Regions from separate parts of the Homo sapiens genome. Here regions 1, 3, 4, 5, 6 and 7 are each linked to region 2. Evidence: promoter capture Hi-C in 16 types of primary human blood cells and fetal thymus (Javierre and others, 2016). All regions are on one chromosome and are shown on one strand. Each heading gives the region's core, a stretch centred on a gene start or on the middle of the fragment in contact. The rest is flanking DNA. Distances are from core to core; before and after follow the strand shown.

Region 1 (3,136 bases), core at 109-2,608, 180 kb after region 2:
CAGGGCCTCAGTTCATGTTTTAGTCATTTGCCCCCAGACCTGTCTGGAGAGTTGGAGGTTCTTTCCTCAAAAAACATTAGGAAAAAGTAGAAACAAGTGCCAAAAGCATTTATAATCAAAGGGACATGAAGGTTCTTTCTTTGCAGTTTTATCTTGCCATAACGCACTTGCAATATTTTAAAATCAAACTGGCACAGTCTCACACTTTAAATAGGGACAACTCAGTTGAGAATTTAACAGTGAGAAGACAAGGTACTCCAGGGTCATATAAACCACATTAAAAAAAACTAATGTGGTAAAAGCCAACTTGACAGAATTTTGACAGCACAATTATTTTTAAATACAAACATCCTATCTCTAAGATTAAGAATAAAAGCTTTTATTTTGTTTGTATTCAATGGAAACAGCCTTCCTACAAGCAATAAGAAAAGCTGAAGTTACAATGGAATTAAGAAAAAGATACGGATCACCAGCTAAAACTAAGAAATCCTAAGATTCCTAGATCTACCACGCAGGGAAGCAGAGGCAACACAGAGTAGACAACAGTGAGATGTCCTATAAATGGTTACTATGGGAAAAGGGAGGGTGGGGAGCAGAACAAGCTCTGCCTGCCAAACCAGAAATGTCAGCATGTATCTTGTTTTGTTTTTTAAAAACCCAAGGTATCAGGGTCTTGCTATGTTGCCCAGGCTGGAGCACAATGGCTATTCACAGGCACAATCACAGCTCACTACAGCCCTCAAAGTCCTGTGCTCAAGCAATCCTCCTGCCTCAGCCTCCCTAGTAGCTGGGAATACAGGCACAGGCCACAGTACCCAAGTTGTTTAAAACTGGATGAAAAAATTAAATGTACAAGCAGGATAGGGAATAAAGCAATGTTTCATAATATTGAGACATGTCGTAAACTGGGTCTGCTAACACTTCTCAAGGTCTATACATTCTCTATAAGAATTTTTAAATGCTGTGTTTTCATTTCAAAATTACACTAAAACATTAGTATAAGCCTGTTCTGGATCATCGAGATGCTTCCCTAGAAACACAGAGCTGCCCAGAGATTTCACAGCCCACGTGTGCTGTTGTGTTTACCATCAGGCTAAGGCCAAACAATACAATTTTAACTAATTTGTACTAACAATCAAGAACGGAGTAAGACCTGATCCCTGCATAATATACATGCCAAGCGAAGGGCAGAAGGCACCCCTCCAAGGTTTTATAGTTCTCAGAGAAAAGTGATGAGGGAACTGAGTTACCTCATGGCAAGGTAACAGAAGCCATTGCCAAAGCCTCCAAATCTGCCACGGCCTCCAAATCTGCCACAGCAACAATACCATATTCACAATGAGAGGAGCAACTGGAATAAACATCATCGGCTCCATAAAAGTAATTTTAATTTTACTGATTTTGTCATTTTATCTGTCTTTAACTTGTAAACTTATTTTCTTTTTATAATCTGTAAGCAGGCCAGGTGTAGTGGTTCACACCTGTCATCTCAGCACTGCAGGCCAAGGTGAGAGGAACTGCTTGAGCCCAGGAGTTCAAGACCAGCCTGGACAACAGAGTAAGCTGCTGTCTCAATTTTTAAAAAATAAAGAAAGAAAAGAATGCATACAAGTTTAAATATTTTATGCATCAGAGGTTTTTTTTTCTTCTTTTTTTAAAATATAGAGATGGGGTCTTGCTGCTATATTGCCCAGGCTGGTCTCAAACTCCTCGGCTCAAGGAATCCTCCCACCTTGACCTCTCAAAGTGCTGCAATTACAAGCATGAGCCACCGTGCCAGGCCTTATGTGCATTCCTAAGTAACATAATAATAAAAATAACTTCAGCTAGGGTACCAAGACCATTCACAGTTGAGAAAGGATAGTCTTTTCAACAAATAGTGATGGGAAAACTGGATATCCACAGGCAAAAGACTCAAGTTTGACTTTTACCCCCCACCCCGCACGATGGAGTCTCGCTCTGTCGCCCAGGCTGGAGTGCAGTGGCACAATCTCGGCTCACTGCAACCTCCGCCTCCTGTGTTCAAGCAATTCTCCTGCCTCAGCCTCCCAAGTAGCTGGGACCACAGGTATGCATCACCATGCCTGGCTAATTTTTGTATTTTTAGTAGAGACAGGGTTTCGGCATGTTGGCCAGGCTGGTCTCAAACTCCTGACCTCAGGTGATCCATCCGCCTCGGCCTCCCCAAGTAGTGGGATTACAGGCGTGAGCCACTGCGCCCAGAGCCTCAAGTGTGACTCTCAAACTGTATACAAAAATTAACTCAAAATGGATCAAAGACCTAAACTTAGGAGCTAAAATCATAAAACTGCAGAAAGAAAACACTGAGGGAAAGCTTCATGACACTGCATTTGGCAATGGTCTCTTAGATATATGACACCAAATGTACAGGTAACAAGATAAAAAATAAACTTCATCAAAATTGAAAGCTTTTGTGCATCAAAGGACACTATCAAGAGAGTAAAGGCCATGTGCAGGGGCTTACACCTATAATCTCAGCACTCTGAGAAGCCGAGGTAGGAGGATTGCTTGAAGCCAGGAGTTCAAGACCAGCCTGGGCAACAAAGTGAGACCTTATCCCTTCAAAAAATAAAAAAATTAAAAATTAAAAAAAGAAAAATAAATGAAAATAAAAATTAAAAAATTGGCAGAGTGCAGTGGCCCACGCCTACAATCCTAGCACTTTGGGAGGCCAAGGCAGGTGCCACTTGAGGTCAGGCAAGATGGTGCCACTGTTCTCCAGCCTGGGCAACAGAGTGAGATTCCGTCTCAAAAAAAAAAGTGCAAAGGACCTTATGGGGAGAGACTGGAGCCCTTGAACTTTGCTTGTGGGAAGGTAAAATGATTTAGCTATGGTGGAAAAGTCTGGCCATCCCTCAAAGAGTTAAACATAGAATTATCATATGATCCAGCAATTCCACTCCTAGGTATGGAACCAAAAGAACTGAAATCAGAGATTCAAACAAATATTTGGTTATCAATGTTCACGGCAGCATTATTCACAACAGGTAAAGGGGGAAACAATTCAAATGTCCATCAAGGTTGAATGAAAAAACAAAATGTGGTATATATAAACAATGTAATATTAACTATCTCTAAAAACATTAAAGTGATACAAGCTACCACATGGACAAAC
Region 2 (3,200 bases), core at 118-2,617:
CAGGGAAATAATAGACACACACTTTTAGCTTTCATGAAAAAGCAACTCTCTTCATTAGAAGAACCTCATCTTCCCTGGCTAACCATAGAAGTCTGGCAGGAGCTGCCAATCACAGACTCCACTTCTCTTGGCCAAGGGGGTGAGGGGGTAGATTTGGCATCCAGGCCGAATCAATCTCCCATCCCCTGTCCCATAAAACATGTGACACAAGCCAAGCCAATCAGAGTCCTTCCCTGGGACTGTTTTCCAGGTGAAGCTGACAGGAAGAGATCTTTTTCCCAGTTGGTCAGGACACTATAAAGAAGAGGCCTCAGAAGCAGATGGTGGCCATGTTTCCAGCCATATAGGAAAGAAGGGGGGAGATGGAGACCGATATACAGAGAGACAAGAGAGAGAGCGAGCTGGCATGCCAGTCAACAGCATTACATCCTTGGTTCCTGTCTTCCCTCTGGCAAGCTTTATTCTTGCCCTTTCTAGACATGTAAACCAATAAATCCCTTTTTATTTACTTGAAATAATTCAAATTGGTTTCTATTAGTTGCCAACAATAGGGTCCTAAAATATAAGCCTATAATTTCACCACTGAAGTTCAAGGTAAAGCTACAAATCTTCCTGGGAGAGGTGATTCATGGGTCTAAATTGTTACTAAAGTATAAATGACTGATAACAGATCCTTTCTTAAGAGGAGACTATAATTACGAGCTTATCTGAAAACAGACAAAGCACCATACAGCTAGAAGTAAAGACAGTCAAAACGTCTGGTAACCTTCACCTATCAGCACATAAGTTTTTTTTAAGATTAGAATCTTCAGTCACCAATGTGCTGAGTTTGCTGGGTCTGGCACCCAGTATGGGGTTCAGTCAATATCGTAAAAGGGAAGAAACAGAAGCAAGGGAAAGTGGAAAGAAAGGAAGAGTGGGGGAAGGAGGAAGGGGAAAAAAAGAAAAGAAAAAAAGAGGGAAGGAGACGGGAAGAGGAGAAGGAAGGGTGATGAGGGAGGAAGAAAAGAGAGAAGGAAGGCTTGAAGGGAGGCAGTAAGGAGGGAAGAAAGAAAGGAAGGAAGGAGGAAGGAAGGGAAGAAGGGAAAGAGAAAGAAAGAGAGGGAGGGAGTAAAAAGAAGGGAGGGAAGTGGAGACGGAGGGAGAGACACACAGAGACAGAGACAAGACAGACAAATTGAGGGGAAAGGGAGGAAGGAAGAAAGACGAGAGTCTGAGCGGTGGATCCCGCCCCGGCCCCGCCCTCGGCCCCGCCCCCGGCCCGCGAGCTGCAGCACCACCTCCGGTCGCCAGGGGCCGCCACCCGCAGCCGCCGGCACCCTGTGCGCGCGGCGGGCCTTCTTTCCCGCCTCTGCGCCGGCCGCGCGCCCCCCCCGCCGCCGCTCTCGGGCTCCGGCCGGGTCTCGCGCGCCGTCTTCTCGAGAGGGGCATCGCGCCGCCCGGCGCGCGCCGCCCCCCTGCCTCGCGGCGCGGGGTCTCGCGGGCCCCGCTCCCGCCCTCCGCTCGCCTGGCCCGGACCGGAAGCGGCGCCGCACGGCCTGGGCCTGGCGCGGGGGGCGGGCACCGGGGCCCGGTCGGACATGGGCAAGAAGCACAAGAAGCACAAGTCGGACAAACACCTCTACGAGGGTGAGGAGGGGGCCGGGGTGCGGGCGGCGGGCCCTCGGCGGCTCTGCCGGGCTTCCGCTCTTTCCCAGTGGCTCCGGGGCGGCCCGGGGCCCTTCCTTCCCACGGCAGGCCCAGGCCGGCGAAGGGGGCGCGTCCTGCCGGAGGCCGCGCTGCCCCCCGTGCGGCCGCGGCATTCGAACCCGGGTCCCCCTGGTCCGGTGGGTCTCTGGTGGGGAGACGTGAGGCGGGCCCGGGAGGCCTGGGAGCGTTCGGGGCGGGCGGCGCCGCCGCACCCCCGGGCCGGGGTCCGTCATTCAACAGGTGCTTCGCGGAGCGCCCAAAGCCGCCTCGGGCTTGCTGCGCCTTGGCGCTCTGCATCCTTAGCACTCCCTGGAGAGCCCCGATTTTAATCGACGCGCTTTCCTTTCTTTTCTTTTCTTTTTTTAAGAGTATGTAGAGAAGCCCTTGAAGCTGGTCCTCAAAGTAGGAGGGAACGAAGTCACCGAACTCTCCACGGGCAGCTCGGGGCACGACTCCAGCCTCTTCGAAGACAAAAACGATCATGACAAACACAAGGACAGAAAGCGGAAAAAGAGAAAGAAAGGAGAGAAGCAGATTCCAGGGGAAGAAAAGGGGAGAAAACGGAGAAGAGTTAAGGTACAAGTGGTTACATTGCTTTGGCTTTGCGGACGGCACTGCCTCTTCCAGGTGCCAACCTCATTTTATTTTCTTTGTATCTGGGGAAAACAAACGCCTCTAAGATCTGGCTCGTTTGAGGAGGAGCAGGACAGAATAGAGACATGAATCATCTATGAGTTTCAGCAAGTCGTTTTTGGATTATACTCTTAGGCAATTGTACTCGCACATCAGGTGAGGAAGCAGCTAAGTCCAAATTTTGAGGAGCTGCTTCAAAGAATGGTTTTTCCATCTAGGCAGGGTAAAAAGTCATGCTCAAGAAAGCCTCAGTGTTCAAGGATTGTCAAAAATAGTCATTTCAGAAGCGAGTGGGATCTACTGGGGTTTAAAGTTTGTTCTGAAATAAATATTATAATGCCAAATCTGTAATGAGCAACTTTAAATCTTTTAAAACAGTGTTGTAGTGTGTTGAGAAAATTTGGTCAGAAACCTGTAATGGAGATTGATATTCTTAACCATTTGCATTTAACAGAAAAGAATGAGTAGCTACCATCTTGGTTTGAAAGCTGGGCAAAATAATAATTAATGGCTGGGCCCAGTAGCCCACACTTGTAATCCCAACACTTTGGAATGCCGAGGTGGGAGGATTGCTTGAGGCTGGAAGTTCGAGACCAGCCTGGGCAACATAGCAAGGCCCTGCCTCTGCAAAATAAACTACAAAAATTTCCAGAGCCTGGTGGTGTGCACCTGTGTCCCAGCTATTCAGGAGGCTGAGGTGGGAGGATCCCTTGAGCCCAGGAGTTTGAGGTACAGTGAGGTATGATCATACCACTGCACTCCAGCCTGGGCAATAATACGAGACTCTGTCTCTAATAATAATAACATTGTTATTACTGTTATTAACTTTCCAAATTTAACCTGCCACTGAACGACTTATTACATCAATTATTGTGAAG
Region 3 (3,223 bases), core at 583-3,082, 170 kb before region 2:
AGAACTAGGGCTGGGGTCTCCAAGCCATTCTGTTTGGGTACTAAAGGCAGAGGGAACAGCACATGTAAAGGCCCTGAAGTGGAGACTGCCATGGATGTTTTGGAAACAGCAAAGAGGCCCCTGGCTCTGGAGCAGAGAGAGCATGGTTTGGGAGTAGAGGGGAGAAGATGAGGTTGGAGATGACTGGGCCAAAAGACTGCTGCTTGAGTACAGTCTGGATGTGGGGTTGAATTGAATTGAATTTGTGTACCACCAACTCCTCCTGGGTTCAGGATGTTTGAGCAAGTTTAGAGCACAGGCTTCCCAGGTGAGCCTGGAGGAGAGGGAAAGCCAGCCCAGCCTCCCCATCTCCTTGGCAGGTGCCTTGTTCTCCTCCCAGCCCTGCCTCTCTGCTCTTCTTCACACTGGGCAGAGAAGCTATATTAGTCCGTTCTCAGGCTGCTACAAGAACATACCGGAACTGGGCAATTTATAAAGGAAAGAGGTTTAATTGACTCACAGTTCTACATGGCTGGGGAGGCCTCAGGAAACTTACAATCATGACAGAAGGAGAAGCAAACACGTCCCTCTTCACATAGCAGCAGGAGAGAGAGGTGCCGAGCAAAGGGGAAAAGCCCCTTATAAAACCATCAGATCCTGTGAGAACTCACTATCACAAGAACAGCATGGGATTAACTGCCCTCATGATTCAATTACCTCCACCTGATCCTGCCCTTGACATATGGGGATCATTACAACTCAAGGTGAGATTTGGGTGGGAACACAGAGCCAAACCATATCAGAAGCCTTTCTAGTCACAGTACCAGTCTTTGACTATTCCCAGACTTTGTTAACAAAAGAGCAAAAGAAGCCCCTATCTTTTTAAGCCTTTGTTTTTCAGTTACATGCAGCCAACCAGACCACCACACAGCCTCTCCACCTATAAAATAGAAGGAAGGGTCCAGAAGATTAGCATTTCCCGTAATGGGTTCCCCCGACCACTGGTTTGTGAGATGCTATTATTATGTGCAAGAAAGGACTCCATGAGAAACTTTGGGCAGCCCTAGCTTAGCCAAAAGAAGACAAGTTTTTTCCTGCAGGACTTGTCAGAGCTTTCATTGAGTAGCCAAGCTTTGTGATTCTCTAAATGGAGAGCATCGTCATAAGCAGGGTTTCTTAAACTCACCAGACCAGGAAACCATTTCTGGAAAACAAGTTCATGGAACATGCTTTGGAAAATACTGGACCAGATGACTTTTAAGGTTTCTTCCCATCTGAGATTCCAACTACTGACTCCAGGAGCCTAGACTGGGAGGGTGATAGGAAGGAAAGCTCAGTGAGGGGAGAGCCAGTGTGGAAAGGTTCCCTGAAGGAGACCATCTGCAAGTGTTGATGGTGTGTGTTTCATGTGTTTTTGGACATATTTGTCCACTTATAGCCCTCTGTAAGTATTCAGCAAATGAACACTTACTATGCAAGTGCCTCCCATTGGTACACAGTTCTTAAGGCCACAGCTCAAGGAGTGAAGGAAAAGTGGTCACTATAGCAAAGCTCATAGTTAATTTTCCTGTATCACCTGCCTTCCCTTCCAGCTTAGCTTCCTCCTCCTCTTCCTTCTTCCATGGCACAGAACACAGCTTCAAGGTGGCCCCTGCCACCACGTTGGTAACACCTGACTCCTTCACCCCTTAGCCAGAGCTGACTGGATGCCTGACCCATTGGCCCAACCCATCAGGATCTCTTTGCAGAATCTGAATGGAGAGGCCAGGGGCCTGCAGTCCACTTCCTGGTGGTCTCTACAGCTGTAGAGCTCCATAGTCCCAGGGGTTGGAGCAGCTTCTTGGGGTCGCTGTGGGCTGAAAAATAAGCAGGAAGAAGCAGGAGTAAGAACCATTAGGGGAAAGCAATGATAGTAAACCCCATGGAGAGAGAGACACAGACAGACTGGTCCCTGACTAACTGTATATGCTGACCTTGGATCCCTCCCTGTAAGACTCTTAATCCCCCTTTCTTGAGCTAGGGTCAAATAGCCTAGAGGAGGGCTCCCTGGAATTTAATGTGCATATGAATTCACCGGGATCTTGTTGAGATGCAGTGTGAGTGGAGCCTGAGAGTCATTTCTCACCAGCTCCCAGGTGAGGCTGATGGTGCTGGTGTATAGACCACACACAGTTGGAGGCTCTAGAAAGTTAAGCCTTCTCAGAAGCAACCAAGGTTACATAGCTTGCCCTTGCCTCGCATAAGCAGCCATGCTGGGGAGGAGATGGAGAGGCCAAAGTCAGGGAGGAGGCAACCAAGAAATAAAGGTGGGTGCTTCTCTTTTATTTATCATGTCATTCAGTGAAGATTTGTTGGGCGCCTAATTTACATCAGGCTCTTGTGTCCACAAAACAGACAAAAATGCCATCCTCATGAAGTTTATATTCTCATAGAGGAAGACAGACAATAAATACATAAGTCAGTGAAATATGTGGTGTGTCTATGGGAGAAAAAATTCAAGTGATAAAGAGAAAGAAAAAATACCAGGGCAGGAGCTAATGATTTTAGATAGACAGGTCAGAGAGGATAAGCTTTGTGCAAAGACTTGAAAATGAGGAAGAAACAGAGGGAACAGCATGTGCAAAGGGCCTGAGGTAAGGATATGCCAGGAATGTTTTGGAAACAGCAAAGAGGCCCCCGGCTCTGGAGCAGAGAGACCACAGTTTGGGAGTATTGGGGAGAAGATGAGGTTGGAGGTGACGGGGACAGATCATGAGACCCTTATAGGTCTCATCAAAAACTTCAGCTTTCCTGGAGAAAGACAGGAGTTACTAGAAGAGAGTTGTGGCTGGGCATGGTGGCTCATGCCTGTAATCCCAGCACTTTGGGAAGCTGAGGTGGGTTGATCCCTTGCAACCAGAAGATTGAGGCCAGCCTGGGTAACATGACAAAATCCTGTCTCCACAAAAAATAATTTTAAAAAGTAGCCAGGTATGGTGATGCATGTCTGTATTCCAAGCTACTAGGGAGGCTGAGGTGGGAGGATTGCTGGAGCCCAGGAGGCAGAGGTTGCAGTGAGCTGAGACTGCACCACTGCACTCAAGCCTGGGCAACAGAGTGAGACCCTGTCTCAAAAAAAGAGAGAGTAGTAACCAGAGCAACTGGGCTGCTGTGTTGAGAATAAGTGTGGGTCACAGGGCTATGGTGGGGCGCCAGGCCTGAGATGATGGCGACTTAGACCAGGTGATGGCAGTGGAGGAGGTAA
Region 4 (3,221 bases), core at 505-3,004, 210 kb after region 2:
GAGTGTTGAAGTTGCAGTAAGCCAAGATCACGCCACTGCACTCCAGCCTGGGTGGCATAGCAAGACTCCGTCTCAAAAAACAAAAACAAAACAAAACAAAAAAAACAAAGAAAGTTAAGTTAGTTGAACACAGTATACTAAATTTTGAGACATTCTTAAATATGAATTATATTGTTAGTGTACAATCTACACTATAGAAAACCTAATGTCTTCTTAAAAGCGCATGTCAGTACCCAAATCAGTAAAATTCAATAACCTGAAGGTTCTAGTTCACTAAGAATTACTGTGGGCTATATCTGCAAATGCACAGAAATTAAATAGAGCACAAATCACTTGGAAAAAGGCCTCTAAATTCTTTCATATTCAATCTACTTTAATCTGTCTGATTGCTTTGGAGCCCAGCAGTAACACCAATCTCATTGGTAACACTGTGTAGAAATAAGCAGAGAGAGGCCGGGCGCGGTGGCTCATGCCTGTAATCCCAGCACTTTGGGCGGCCGAGGCAGGTAGATCACCTGATGTTGGGAGTTTGACACCAGCCTGACCAACATGGAGAAACCCCATCTCTACTAAAGATACAAAATTAGGCATGGTGGCACATGCCTGTAATCCCAGCTACTTGGGAGGCTGAGGCAGGAGAATTGCTTGAACCCGGGAGTCAGAGGTTGCAATGAGCCAAGATCGCGCCACTGCACTCCAACCTGGGCAACACAAGTGAAACTCCGTCTAAAAAAAAAAAAAAAACAGAAAGAGAGAGAGAGGGAGGGAGCGAGAGCGAGAGAGAGAGAGAAAGAGAAGCAGATATAAGCCCTAATGCAGTGCTGAAAAAAGGCATGAACATCTTGGGCTTACTATGACATGATGAACAATGGGCACTAGAGGATGGCACATACAAGAGGATACTGCCCTACGGCAGTGAAGAGCACTACATCTCAGCCCTCCAAATCTCAGCTCCCCACTAGCAGGTCCACCTATACATCCCCCTACTATCTTCTTACCCAAACCAATAGTCCTTCTGGCCCTTATTTCCAAAAACACCACAAATATTTCCCCAGTCACTCAAGTTCAAAGCTACAGTGTGATTATTAAATCCACTTAAGGAATCTGAATCATCTCCATCCTTACCCTGTAATACCTCTCACATTCATTCTCCCTTCACATCCCCATTCCCACCATCCTAGTTTAAGAAATTGTACCTTAAACCCAAGTTTCCCAACAAGGTCTTGATGTCCCCACAGCCAAATTTGTACTCCAAAACATTGTTTTGAACAAGTCATCCAAGCCTTAAAAAAGCATCTACAGATCTGGCAGTACAGCCAACAGAAACCTATCATGAGCTTGGACAAACACCAAGCACCTTCCAGAAGAAGTTTCTGGACCCAGGGCTCAAGACCAAGTTCTGCAAATTCCCTGTATTTGCTACTTCTTGCCATCCCCTCTTTCTCCATAGTGATAAACAATTAAGTCTTTCAAAAGAAAAGGGTTTATGGCTCGTTTTCATGGACAAGCAGCAGCAGGTGGACAGCATCCTAAACCATGGCCAGTTCTGGAGGGGAGCAAAGCCCAAGAGAATCAGTGGAAGCAACTTAAAACATAAAAGGCCAGGCCAGGCATGGTGGCTCATGCCTGTAATCCTGACACTTTGGGAAGCCAAGGTGGGCAGATCACTTGAGGTCAGAAGTTCGAAACCAGTCTGGCCAACATGGTGAGACCCCATCTCTACTAAAAATACAAAAATTACCTGGGCATGGTGGCGGGCGCCTGTAATCCCAGTTACTCGGGAGGCTGAGGCAGGAGAATTGCTCGAACCTGGGAGACGGAGGTTGCAGTGGGCCAAGATTGTGCCACCACACTCCAGCCTGGGCAAGAGAGCAAGACTCCCTCTCATTAATTCATTCATTCATTCATAATTAAATAAATAAATAAGGCCAGGCATGGTGGCTCACACCTGTAATCCCAACATTTTGCTAGGCGGAGGCGGGAGGATCACTTGGACCAGGAGTTGGAGACCTTCATGGGCAACATGACAAGACCCCATCTTTACAAAAAAAACCAAAATGAGCCAGGCATGGTGGCACTCGCCTGTAGTCCCAACTACTCAGGAGGCTGAGGTGGGAAGTTCACTTCAGCCTGGGAGGCCAAGGCTGCTGTGACCCATGATTATGACACTGCACTCCAGCCTGAGCGACAGAGCAAGACCCTGTCTCAAAAAAAATTAAAAAAATAAATTTAGGCCAGGCACAGTGGCTCACACCTGTAATCCCAGCACACTGGGAGGCCAAGGCATGTGGATGGCTTGAGCCCAGGCAAAGGCTGCAGTGAGCCGAGATCACACCACTGCACTCCAGCCTGGGCAACAGAGCGAGACCCTGTCTCCATAAAATTAAATTAAAATTTAAAAATAATAAAACACAAAATAAAAAAATGTTTTAAAAAGCAAACAAAATCCCTGGTCTGTGGGTACATGAAGAAGTCTGAGATGATGAGCTCAAGAGTTTTATTTTGAAGACTTTAGGATGAAATCCAATATCTTACTCTACATATTAAAGAAATGTCCATGTCATGTGTAAGAGGGAACACATAATAAAAGGAAAGTTAAACATAAGTGGGCTATACCAAGAGCATGAAGTGAGTACCTTTGAGAGTTCAGAGGAGAAACCAAAAACATCAAGGACTTAGGCAATGCAAGAGGTCAGCATTCTAAATAAATCAACCAATTTGGTGGAAGCAGAGAACACAAAAGACAGCTGCGAGAGACTATATAGCTGTCCCATGGTTCTAGTCCATTTTCACATGCTTTCTGGTCTCCTCTCCCCATCTGGACTATCAGTTCAGAGGCCAAGAACCACCACAATGTGTTAACCTATTAGCTAACTATCAGTCACATCTTAAGAATTCAGAAAACAATGGTAACAGTTTTAGTATATTTAATCTCAGAACAGCATAACATCGAGGTGCACTCTGAATTCAGATTTTTTTAAATACCTATATTAAAAATAGAAAAACTTTCTAAAGTTAAGAAATAAGGATACTGGCGAGAATGGTGGCTCATGCCTATAATCCCAGCACTCTGTGAGGCCAAGGTGGGAGGACTGCTTGAGGCCGGTTGAAGACCAGCCTAGGCAACAAATGGAGGCCCCATCTCTACAAAAAGTAAAAATAAAAAAATTAGGCAGGTGTGGTGACATGTGCCTGTAGTCCCAGCTACTCCAGGAAGCTAA
Region 5 (2,952 bases), core at 381-2,880, 210 kb before region 2:
AGCAGCCTTGGAACCCCAGAATCCCTGCTGTGTCACGAGAGTGCCCCAAGGTGCCATTCCAGAATGAATGAATGTGTGGGATGACCACTGAATGGCAATGTTCCTCTCCCTGCACATACACAGGGATGTCTGGAAGGTATGAGGCAACCACATTCTTTGCAAATACCTCAGTCTAAAAATGGGCACCTGCAAGATCCAGACTCCCCTGGGAGGGTCCACTTTAGGATATGTGGGAGGGGGCAGCTCTCTCTCAGGGCATTTTGAATCTCATTTTGGCTGGGGCTCTAGGCACAGACCTGAGGGACTGCTGTAGGGAGGACAGCCCTGCGAGAGTCCTTAATCATCTAACTAAAACCACGTTCAAGGCATAATTAGCAAACAGCTCCAGATTCATGATCTGAGGCCCACTGACTCTAATGGACTAATTAGGTGAGACATCCTTGGGCGGGCAATGCACTCTGGCCTTCTCAGAAACATCCCAGAGAGCTCAGCAGATCAAGGCTGGCATCTGGTCCATGAGCTGCCTTACGATGGCTGGGCAAAGAGACAAACGCATTACTGGGCAAGAACTACACACAGCTTCCAGAGATCAACAAGGCAATCCCTTCCACCCCAGCAGCCCCAAACAACCAATCCTTGCAACACTCAGATCCTGGACACAAAATCCTTTGCTCTGAGCAATCAGCAACATGCTCTCTGCCTCCTGAACCACCCTGCCCTTTCCAAATCAAGGCTAACAGCAATAAAGGGCACGCATGCCTACACACACAATTCTGCCCTCCCCAGGTCCCACTCCTCTGTAAGCTAACAGCCACTGAGAGCTGCTACAAGACAGCACCTCATCATCCTGGATCAGAAAAATAAATCACCAGCTCTGTGGAAGCCCCAAAAGTACTCAGGGCCTCAAATCCACCACAGATAGCAGACACTTGCTGTTTAGCCAGTTCTCTCCATCCGAGGTGCCTCTGAGTAAGTGGCAGGGGTCCCACAAAGCAATAGGAGCTGGCAGAAGGCAAAGCCTTAGCAAAGGGAAAGTCTGCATCTTTGGGAAGCCCTCGATGCCTCTGACATAATAGCAGGTACAGGCAGGAATGCAATAGACATGCTGAGTGAATGCAAGAGAAAGCACCCGAGAGAATGAGAGCACTCAAAACCCTGCAGCACTGTTTGCCAAAGGACTCCCTGGCCAGAGAAGCTTGGGAAACTGGTCCCTAAACTGAAGGAATCCTGAGTAATACGAAAACTCCATATTCCAGATTCACAATGCACATTAAGACAGTGAAGGCTCTGAGAATTCCTGCAGTTAAGGAACTTATTTAATGGGTAGTTGCAGCAATTGTTTCACAACACTAATTTTGCAAAGAATCTTTTTTTCCCCAGAATCTCCAGTGGGATAATATATTTAGGAAATATTGTCCCTGGTAAGCAATACATCAGTACAGGGCAGATACCGCAAGCCCCAATCCCATAGGAGCTAAGGAGCTAAGTTATTTAAATAAGTTAAATGGGGGCAGGTTTAATATTTGCATAAAAGGCATATGGAAACACTCTTCATCTCCATGAAGAAATATGCTCTAATTTTTCAGAAAACAACCATTTTGGTTCATCTTTTCTCTTCCATCTTTGATAGCAATTGTTTCCTATGAGAGAAATAGAAACATTTATTTAAAAGCAATATAGTTCTATAGAAAACCAATGTGCAAAGGCAATGATGAAAAAAACAGAGAGAAAAATGAGAAACAGGGTTGGTGGGCACTGCAGGGGCTCTGGGGGACACAGGCCCTGTCCAAGAGCACAGCCACATTCAGCTCCACTTGAATATTGCCAGGCTAAGAGGTTGATGCCAATGATATTAGCTTTTCCAATTTTTAAAAAGAAGTCAGAAATCTGGAGTTCTGAGTGAAATTCCTCATTTTTAAATGTTGGCTCAAATTGTTTAAAAAATTGAAAGGGTCAAACAAAACATTCCTGGGAGCTAGAGTCAGCTCACCAGGTTGCAATTTCTGCCAAAAATGACAGAGTAACGCTCATTCGACTGGTGCTGCCACCCGTTTCCCAAGCTTCTCTGGCCAGGGAACCCTTTGACAAGGGTTTGAGTACCCTTATTCTCTTGAGTGCTTTCTCTTGCATTCACTGAGCGTGTGTACTGCATTCCCTGCGTGTACCTGCTATTATGCCAGTTGCATTGAGGGCCTCCCAAAGACGCAGACTTTGCCTTTGCTAAGGCACCGCTCTAAGCACTGGGCCCTCGCCTCTCCTTGGGCAGGCCCTGGCATGTGTGGGAAGGGGTGAGCACACAGTGTGAGGCCAGAATGGCCAGTCCATCAAGGGGATCCATCATGGTGTCATGACAACACTCCCTAAGGTCCTTTTCAGAAATAGAATTCATTCTCAAATCAAAACTAAAAACAGAAAGCCCACCTGGAGAGGCCAGCAAAGGAAGACATAGTCCACGGGACTGAGAGAGTGCATGTGTAGCGGGTTGGGGTGCATGCTTAGTGGGTTAGAGTGCATGTGTAGCGACTAGCCGGTGGGACCAAGACAGTGCGTGTGTAGCTGGTAGCCTGTGGGACTGAGAGAGTGCATGTGTGTAGCAGGTTAGGGTGCGTGTGCAGCAGGTACCCATGGGACCAAGAGAGTGCATGTGTAGCAGGTAGTCCGTGGGACCAAAACAGTGCATGTGTGGCGAGTTAGAGTGCGTGTGTAGCAGGTAGCCCAGGAGACTAAGAGAGTGCATGCATGGCAGGTTAGAGTGCATGTGTAGCAGGCAGCCCACAGGAGTAAGACAGTGCATGTGTGGCGGGTTAGAGTGCGTGTGTAGCGGGTAGCCCGCAGGAGTAAGACAGTGCATGCGTGGCGGGTTAGAGTGCGTGTGTAGCGGGTAGCCCGCAGGAGTAAGACAGTGCATGCGTGGCGGGTTAGAGTGCGTGTGTAGCGGGTACCCCGCAGGAG
Region 6 (3,113 bases), core at 324-2,823, 240 kb after region 2:
GCTGGTCTCAAACTCCTGAGCTCAAGTGATCAGCCCGCCTTGGCCTCCCCAAGTGCTGGGGTTACAGGCATGAGTCACTGCGCCTGGCTGATTAAATATTTTTTAAAAGAGATTTATTTTAATTTACATACTGTGACATTCACCCATCTTAAGTGTACAATTCAATAATTTTTAGTGAATGTACAGAGCTGTGCAATCATCACCACATTCCAACTTTAAAATACCTCCGTCCCCAGAAAGATCTTTAAGGTTCATTTGCAGTCACTCCTTTACCCACTTGAGCCCTAGGCAGCCACTAATCTACTTTCTATCTTGATAGCTTTGCCTTTTCTGGGTAACTCTGTGTTGAGTGGTGTTTCTATAGAACTTGACCATGGCAGGCACTAAGGCCCCCAAAAAGAATTGGTAGCTCAGCCTAATGAGAGTGGAAAAAACCCACTCCCAGAATGAGTTCATTTTCTCAAATTTTTGGACTGGTCTTTAACAAATTCAGACATTTTTCAGATTCAGGTTTTCACAAGGCCATGGAGGCAGCTCCTCCCATCCTCCCATCATCTTTCTTGTTACTAGAGGAAGTAGCGCCCTTGGCCAGAGGTACGCAAAGCAAGTGTTGGTCTCTGGGCGGCCACTCTAGTGGAGAGAAAGCCCAGAAACTCAAACAAGATGCAACACCCTAGCAGTGCTGTGCATTTTACGTTTTTTTTTTTTTTTTTTTTTTTTTTTTTTGAGATGGAGTCTCGCTCCGTCACTCAGGCTGGAGTGCAGTGGAATGATCTCGGCTCACTGCAACCTCTGCCTCCTGGGTTCACATCATTCTTCTGCCTCAGCCTCCCATATAGCTGGGATTACAGGTGCCCTCAACCACGCCCAGCTAATTTTTTGTATTTTTAGTAGAGATGGAGTTTCACCATGTTGGCCAGGCTGGTCTTGAACTCTGACCTCAGCCTCCCAAAGTGCTGGGATTACAAGTGTGAGCCACCGTGCCTGGCCCCATGTTACCCTTTCTTTTTAACTCACCCCTGCAATGTAGTCTATGGATAAAGGAGAAGGTGCTCACTGACATTTGCTACCTCTTCTGTCATTAAACAATCCAACCATGCAAATTTCTGTTTTGAAAGACTAAGGCTCTTTTTTTTTTTTTTTTTTTTTTGAGACAGAGTCTCGCTCTGTTGCCAGGCTGGATTGCAGTGGCACAATCTTAGCTCACTGCAACCTCCGGCTCCCTAGTTCAAGTGATTCTCTTGCCTCAGCCTCCCAAGTAGCTGGGATTACAGGCACACGCCACCACGCCCAGCCAATTTTTGTATTTTTAGTAGAGATGGGGTTTTACCATGTTAGCCAGCATGGTCTTGATCTCCTGACCTCGTGATCTGCCCACCGCGGCCTCCCAAAGTGCTGAGATTACAGGTGTGAACCACCGCATCCGGCGGACAAAGGCTCTTCTGTCAGAATAGCATGAAAAAAAGAAAAGAAATAAAAAGACAAAGGCCCTTACTAAATGTCAACACTGTACTCCAGAATGTTCTCTTAGCAGCGCCTACATAGCTTGAAACACAGTCCAGGCCTTCTCGAAAAAGAGTTACTTGGTCACAAAAGAAGTTTCCAAGGCTCTTTTCTAGAACCCAGTTTTACTATTGTTCCTGTTTTGTTTTGACAGTCACCTTCTGCTTTGTGCCTAGGAGACAAGTATGACCTTCCTGATCCTCCTACATTCAAAAAACCCCAGACCTTCCGTATTATATCTCCAGGACATGCTGGAAGCCTCTACCCCAACCCTACTTGCCTAGTTCTTGTCTAGGCTACTGCATATCTTTCCAACTGTTGGTCTGGAATCATCCACATCAACGCTTGGAACCTCCTCCGCCTGTAATCCCAACATTTTGCGAGGCCAAGGCTGGGGAATCTCTTGAGCCCAGGAAATCGAGGCTTCAGTGAGCTGTGTTCACACCACTGCACTGCAGTGTGGATGACAGAGCAGAGCAAGACCCTGTCTCCAAAAAAAAAAAAAAAAAAAAAAAAGAATGACAACGTCACTTTGCTTACAGCACATAATAAAATCAAACTCTAAGCAGGATGGTAGGCATGGAAGTCAGAATCCGCTAACAAGTGTAAGTAACAATTTGTCTCCCAGAAAAAATACAAAAAGAAACAAATCAAACTCCAGATTTTTTTTCTGTTCGAACCCATTTCTCTCACTGTCTTCTGCATTTCAATAAATGATGACCCCATCCTTCAAGTGACTCAGGCCAAAATCCTTGGCATCACCCTTAACGTTTTCTTCACTCTCACCACACATCCAACCTACCATTGATGCTGCAGGCTCTTCCTTTAGATGACAGCTGCCTACTTTCCAGGAAATGCACCACTTGGGTCCAAACTACTAGTGTTTCTCGCTGAAATGATTAAGACTGGTTTCTCTCCTTCCAGCCATGCCTCTCATCCATCTGTTCTTATCCCAGGATCAAAGTGATCCTTTGCAATGGAAAGCCAGTGTTTCTCCTCTGCCCCATGTTTCCTAATGTCTTTGTATCACACTCAGATCCTTAACACGGCTGCAAGGCCCTATCTGGTCCAACCCCATCTCCTCTCTAGCCTTGCATCCTGCTACTGGATCACTGTGCTGCAGCCACATGGGTCTCTGCATTGTTACAGAACCCTCCAGCATGCTCACTTGGCAGGGCCTGTGCACATGCTCATTGGAGGCTGGTGCCTCTTTTCCCAGTAATCTCTGTGCCTTCCTCATTTCCTTCAGGTCTCTGCTCAAATGTTGCTGCCCCAGAGGCCTTCCCTGACTGCTGTCTTCTACAGTAACACTCCTTTACATCTGCTCCATTTACCCAAATTTACTGTTTGGCTTTAGCACTTATTTTTAGCACCCAGCATGCACTTATTTGCCTATTCATTGGTTGTCTGTTTCCCCTACTAGAACGTAAGCTCCATGGGAACAGGAGCTTGGTTTGCAAGGCAGACTGACTTTAAGATAGTCTCCTCTCCCATGATCCCCACTTCCTGCTGCTCAAGTCTTTATGTAATTCCCTCTCCTTCAGTGTGGGTGGGACCTGTGATTTGCATCTAACCAATAGCATGTGACAAAGTGATAGGATATGATTCCC
Region 7 (3,235 bases), core at 694-3,193, 230 kb before region 2:
CAGTGTGCGACATCTGCCAAGTGTTCCATGAAGCACGTTAGGGGCATCACCGACCAAGTGCTCCCAGCAGCCCTAGAAGCTGGGCTCTGCGATGACCCCCACTTTGGCCATGAGGAAACTGAGGCTTAGAGAGGTTAAGTGACTCACTCGAGTTGTCAGTCAGGTCTGGGTTTGAGCCTTGGTTCTTCTGCTTTTATACTGTGTGACTTTGTACAAATGAGTCTACCTGACTATGCCTCAGTTTCCCCAGCTGAAAGTGGAAATGACAGCCCCCACCTGGCAGGGCAGTTGTGAGAGGAATGGAGAGTATGTGTACAGTGCTTGGTGAGTGGCCTGGCTCAAATAGCGTGTCCCAAGTCACAGCTGTCACCTCCTTCTCCCTCCGGGCCCTGGTCTTTCATTCTCTTCCCTCACATGCTCTCTTCTGCCCTGGTTTTTGTCAGGGATGCCACAGCGGATCAAAGCCCAGCCCAGCACTGCCTCATCACCCCAGAAGGCCTCAGGCGACCCCACTTCTGGCCGGCTGCAGAGAGCAGAGAGAGTGCACTCAGCGCTTGTCGGAGTCTCTGCCCTCCCACCCACTGCTGACCACACACACACGGCCTTCCCACCCACCACTGACCTCTCTAAGCCACTGCCCACCACACCACTGACCCCACCACACCACTGATCCTGCCCCACCACTGCCCACCACACCACTGACCCCACCACACCACTGATCCTGCCCCACCACTGCCCGCCACACCACTGAACATTGCACCACTGACTCTACCATGCCACTGCACATCGCACCACTGATCCTGCCACACCACTGCCCACCACACCACTGGCCCCACCATGCCACCACCTGCCACACTGCTGACTAGCCCAGCCACTGGCCCGCCACGCCACACAGCCGAGTGCTGATAAGAGGAGAGGCCCGAGGGCCTGTGGCGTGCCTCTGATCACCAAGCAGCTGGGGCGGCATCTGCCAGCAGTTCCTGGCCCTGGGACAGGCCCCCGGTCTGCTGCCAGGGTCTAGCACGTGTGACCTGCCGACAGGGTGGCCCTGAGCCAGGCTGCTTATGACAGGCAGCACTGTCATCTGGCCCCAAGGAAGGGTGCCCCATAGCCATAGGCCACCTCACTGTGGGGAAAGGATGTGTGCTCCTGCCCAGGGAAGGGGCTTGGGGACCCAAGAAGCCTGGAATTTCTTGCTCAGCCTCAGGAATGAAGGGCTTGAGCTTCTTGCTTTTCTGAACCTAAACGAAACAGATGAAGTAAGAGCCTCTTGATTCCTATACCCTGAGGCCTCATTTTACGGACAGGACAAGAGTGTCCATGAGCACAGGTGTGCGCGCACACACACACACACACACACACACACACACACAGAGTCCACCCATGCGGCCCTGCAGTGCCCTGGAGAAACCATCTTGCAGAAGCCATGCTCCTACCCACTCTGATCCCATCAGCCCTGGGCCTCCCACTCTCATCTCCTGGCCCCTTCTGTCCCCTTGTCCCCAAAATAGCTCTAAGAAACTTGTCACCATCCCTCTCACAGGCCAGACCGCCCACTTGGAGCCTCCCAGCCCTGGACCATCCTGTCCCCTTCACCCGGAGCGCCCTCCTCCCTCTACTGCCAGTGAAGTCTTTTGCCTCCTCCGGAGCCACTGTGGATTTCGACTTCCCACCATCCCCAACCACCAGATGAGGACATAATCAAGAGGGTCACACTGGCGGCTTCCAGAGGACTCGGTTCATTCTGAAACTCAGCAGTTCGCATGCTGCCAGGGCTGTGATCGAAAGCCTCAGTGGCCACATCTATAAAATGAGGGCACCAATCCCACCCGCCTGCCACGCAGCAGTGCACGATGATCACACCAAAGGTGGGTGTGGAAAAGCCGAGAAGGTGAGAGGGGCCATTTGGGAATGAGGGCCCAGGGTCCACAGTGCTGTCAGATAGGAAGCTGCTGAGGAGCAGCCTAGTCCGCTCCTGTGCTGTTGATAAACAAAAAGGTGCGTTTTCCAGAATGTTTCTGGAAGGCCACGCTCCACTTCAGAAATGGGAACTGGGGCGCTGTCTCCTTCAGCTGTCTGATTTTCTGGGTGATTTGAATTTTATATTTATATTCTCTCTTTTTAAACCAAGAACATTCAACCCTTTTATACTGAAAAAAATAATAATAACTTTTTCCAAAGCGGTTTTTCCATTAAAACAAATGATGTGGCTCTCCCTCCTGTTTGATGTCACCAAGTTGCTCAACAGGCACCTCAAACTTCATGTGTCCAAACCGGACGCCTGGCGGCCCCCAAACCTGTCCTCCCCAGTGCCTTCCCTGTGTACACAGGGCAGCTCCCTGCTTCCTTCACTCTGGCCAGACACCCCAGAGGCTTCCGCACATCCTGTTGGCTCTCCCTCAAAACACACCCTGAAACCAATCATTGCCACCTCCTCCACTTCTGCCACGCATTCCAGGCCACAGTCCTCTTGAATAATGACAACCATTTTCTATTCTCTGCCCTCGTCGCCACCCCAACCCCTACCCAATTCCCCAAAGTCCCACCAAAGCCCATCAAAGCCCCACCCAATTTGTCTGCCCTATCACCTCCCTCACCCCTTCTGTTCCTCCCCATTCACCCGCTCGCCCACAGCCACACAGGCGTCCTTGCTGTTTCTCCAACAGGTTCAGCTCATTCCCCATTCAGGGTCTTCACACACGCTGTTCCCTCTACCCGGAAGACTCTTCCTCTGGATAACCCCTCCCTCCTGCCCCTCCTTCAGGTTTGGGTTCATTATCACCTTGTCACCTAGGTGAGGTCTTCCCAAATCTCTTTATTTAAAACTGCAGCCCCCTCTCCCACAATCCCTTATTTATCTCTGGGGCATTCCCACCATCTGACACATTATGTATCAACGCCTGACGGCGGAGGCACTCGACCAGCGTGTGTTGAACCACCAAATGCAGCTCTGTATTTACTGACTCAGAAAAACACGCCCTGCATTTTCTTGAAAGAAAAAAGTAGTTGCCAAACAGCAGAGAAAATGTGATTACATTTCCTAACATTATCTGCACGTGTTTCCACGCGCTGTAGTAGGAGGCACACGTCTGCAGAGACGGGCACCAAAATGCTCCCAGAAATGGTGCCCGGTGCTGGATTCCAGGTCACCCAATGGTCTTCCATGAACACACATGATTACTTCTACAATCAGAAATTACAGCAAAGTGTTTTGAAGGAAAAAAAAAATGCTAAA

What was found. The method cuts DNA at HindIII sites, captures the fragments that hold promoters and counts their contacts. A CHiCAGO score of 5 or more calls a contact.
Region 1: a contact is called between a fragment that was not itself captured here and the fragment with the promoter of BRD7 in region 2, in 11 of 17 cell types (naive CD8 T cells, total CD8 T cells, total CD4 T cells and 8 more). The highest score is 21.7, in naive CD8 T cells.
Region 3: a fragment that was not itself captured here is called in contact with the fragment with the promoter of BRD7 in region 2 in 15 of 17 cell types (naive CD8 T cells, non-activated CD4 T cells, total CD8 T cells and 12 more); the score reaches 31.9 in naive CD8 T cells.
Region 4: a contact is called between a fragment that was not itself captured here and the fragment with the promoter of BRD7 in region 2, in 16 of 17 cell types (naive CD8 T cells, neutrophils, total CD4 T cells and 13 more). The highest score is 34.4, in naive CD8 T cells.
Region 5: a contact is called between a fragment that was not itself captured here and the fragment with the promoter of BRD7 in region 2, in 11 of 17 cell types (total CD4 T cells, naive CD4 T cells, naive CD8 T cells and 8 more). The highest score is 20.0, in total CD4 T cells.
Region 6: a contact is called between a fragment that was not itself captured here and the fragment with the promoter of BRD7 in region 2, in 2 of 17 cell types (naive CD8 T cells and total CD8 T cells). The highest score is 6.7, in naive CD8 T cells.
Region 7: a fragment that was not itself captured here is called in contact with the fragment with the promoter of BRD7 in region 2 in 8 of 17 cell types (naive CD4 T cells, naive CD8 T cells, activated CD4 T cells and 5 more); the score reaches 17.2 in naive CD4 T cells.

What each region holds. Positions count from the first base shown.
Region 1 is chr16:50,186,390-50,189,525 of GRCh38, reverse strand. The region is part of intron 1 of TENT4B (terminal nucleotidyltransferase 4B); the gene reads right to left. Among named protein-coding and RNA genes, the nearest start is that of TENT4B, 35 kb to the right of the region's middle. The HindIII fragment of the contact is 1,959 bases long and covers 379-2,337 here.
Region 2 is chr16:50,367,155-50,370,354 of GRCh38, reverse strand. It overlaps BRD7 (bromodomain containing 7), which reads left to right and starts at 1,367. Exons shown (of 17, transcript NM_013263.5): 1 at 1,367-1,629; 2 at 2,057-2,265. The coding sequence starts at 1,581. RefSeq lists silencers at 1,189-1,438, 1,469-1,978. The HindIII fragment of the contact is 8,339 bases long and covers 459-3,200 here.
Region 3 is chr16:50,540,770-50,543,992 of GRCh38, reverse strand. No RefSeq gene overlaps it. Among named protein-coding and RNA genes, the nearest start is that of NKD1, 6.0 kb to the left of the region's middle. The HindIII fragment of the contact is 1,439 bases long and covers 1,113-2,551 here.
Region 4 is chr16:50,156,770-50,159,990 of GRCh38, reverse strand. All of the region lies in intron 1 of TENT4B (terminal nucleotidyltransferase 4B), which reads right to left. Among named protein-coding and RNA genes, the nearest start is that of TENT4B, 5.1 kb to the right of the region's middle. The HindIII fragment of the contact is 5,097 bases long and covers 1-3,221 here.
Region 5 is chr16:50,579,639-50,582,590 of GRCh38, reverse strand. The region is part of intron 3 of NKD1 (NKD inhibitor of Wnt signaling pathway 1); the gene reads right to left. Among named protein-coding and RNA genes, the nearest start is that of NKD1-AS1, 33 kb to the left of the region's middle. The HindIII fragment of the contact is 865 bases long and covers 1,198-2,062 here.
Region 6 is chr16:50,124,896-50,128,008 of GRCh38, reverse strand. No RefSeq gene overlaps it. Among named protein-coding and RNA genes, the nearest start is that of TENT4B, 27 kb to the left of the region's middle. The HindIII fragment of the contact is 7,368 bases long and covers 1-3,113 here.
Region 7 is chr16:50,596,368-50,599,602 of GRCh38, reverse strand. All of the region lies in intron 3 of NKD1 (NKD inhibitor of Wnt signaling pathway 1), which reads right to left. Among named protein-coding and RNA genes, the nearest start is that of NKD1-AS1, 16 kb to the left of the region's middle. RefSeq lists an enhancer at 1,123-1,623. The HindIII fragment of the contact is 7,124 bases long and covers 1-3,235 here.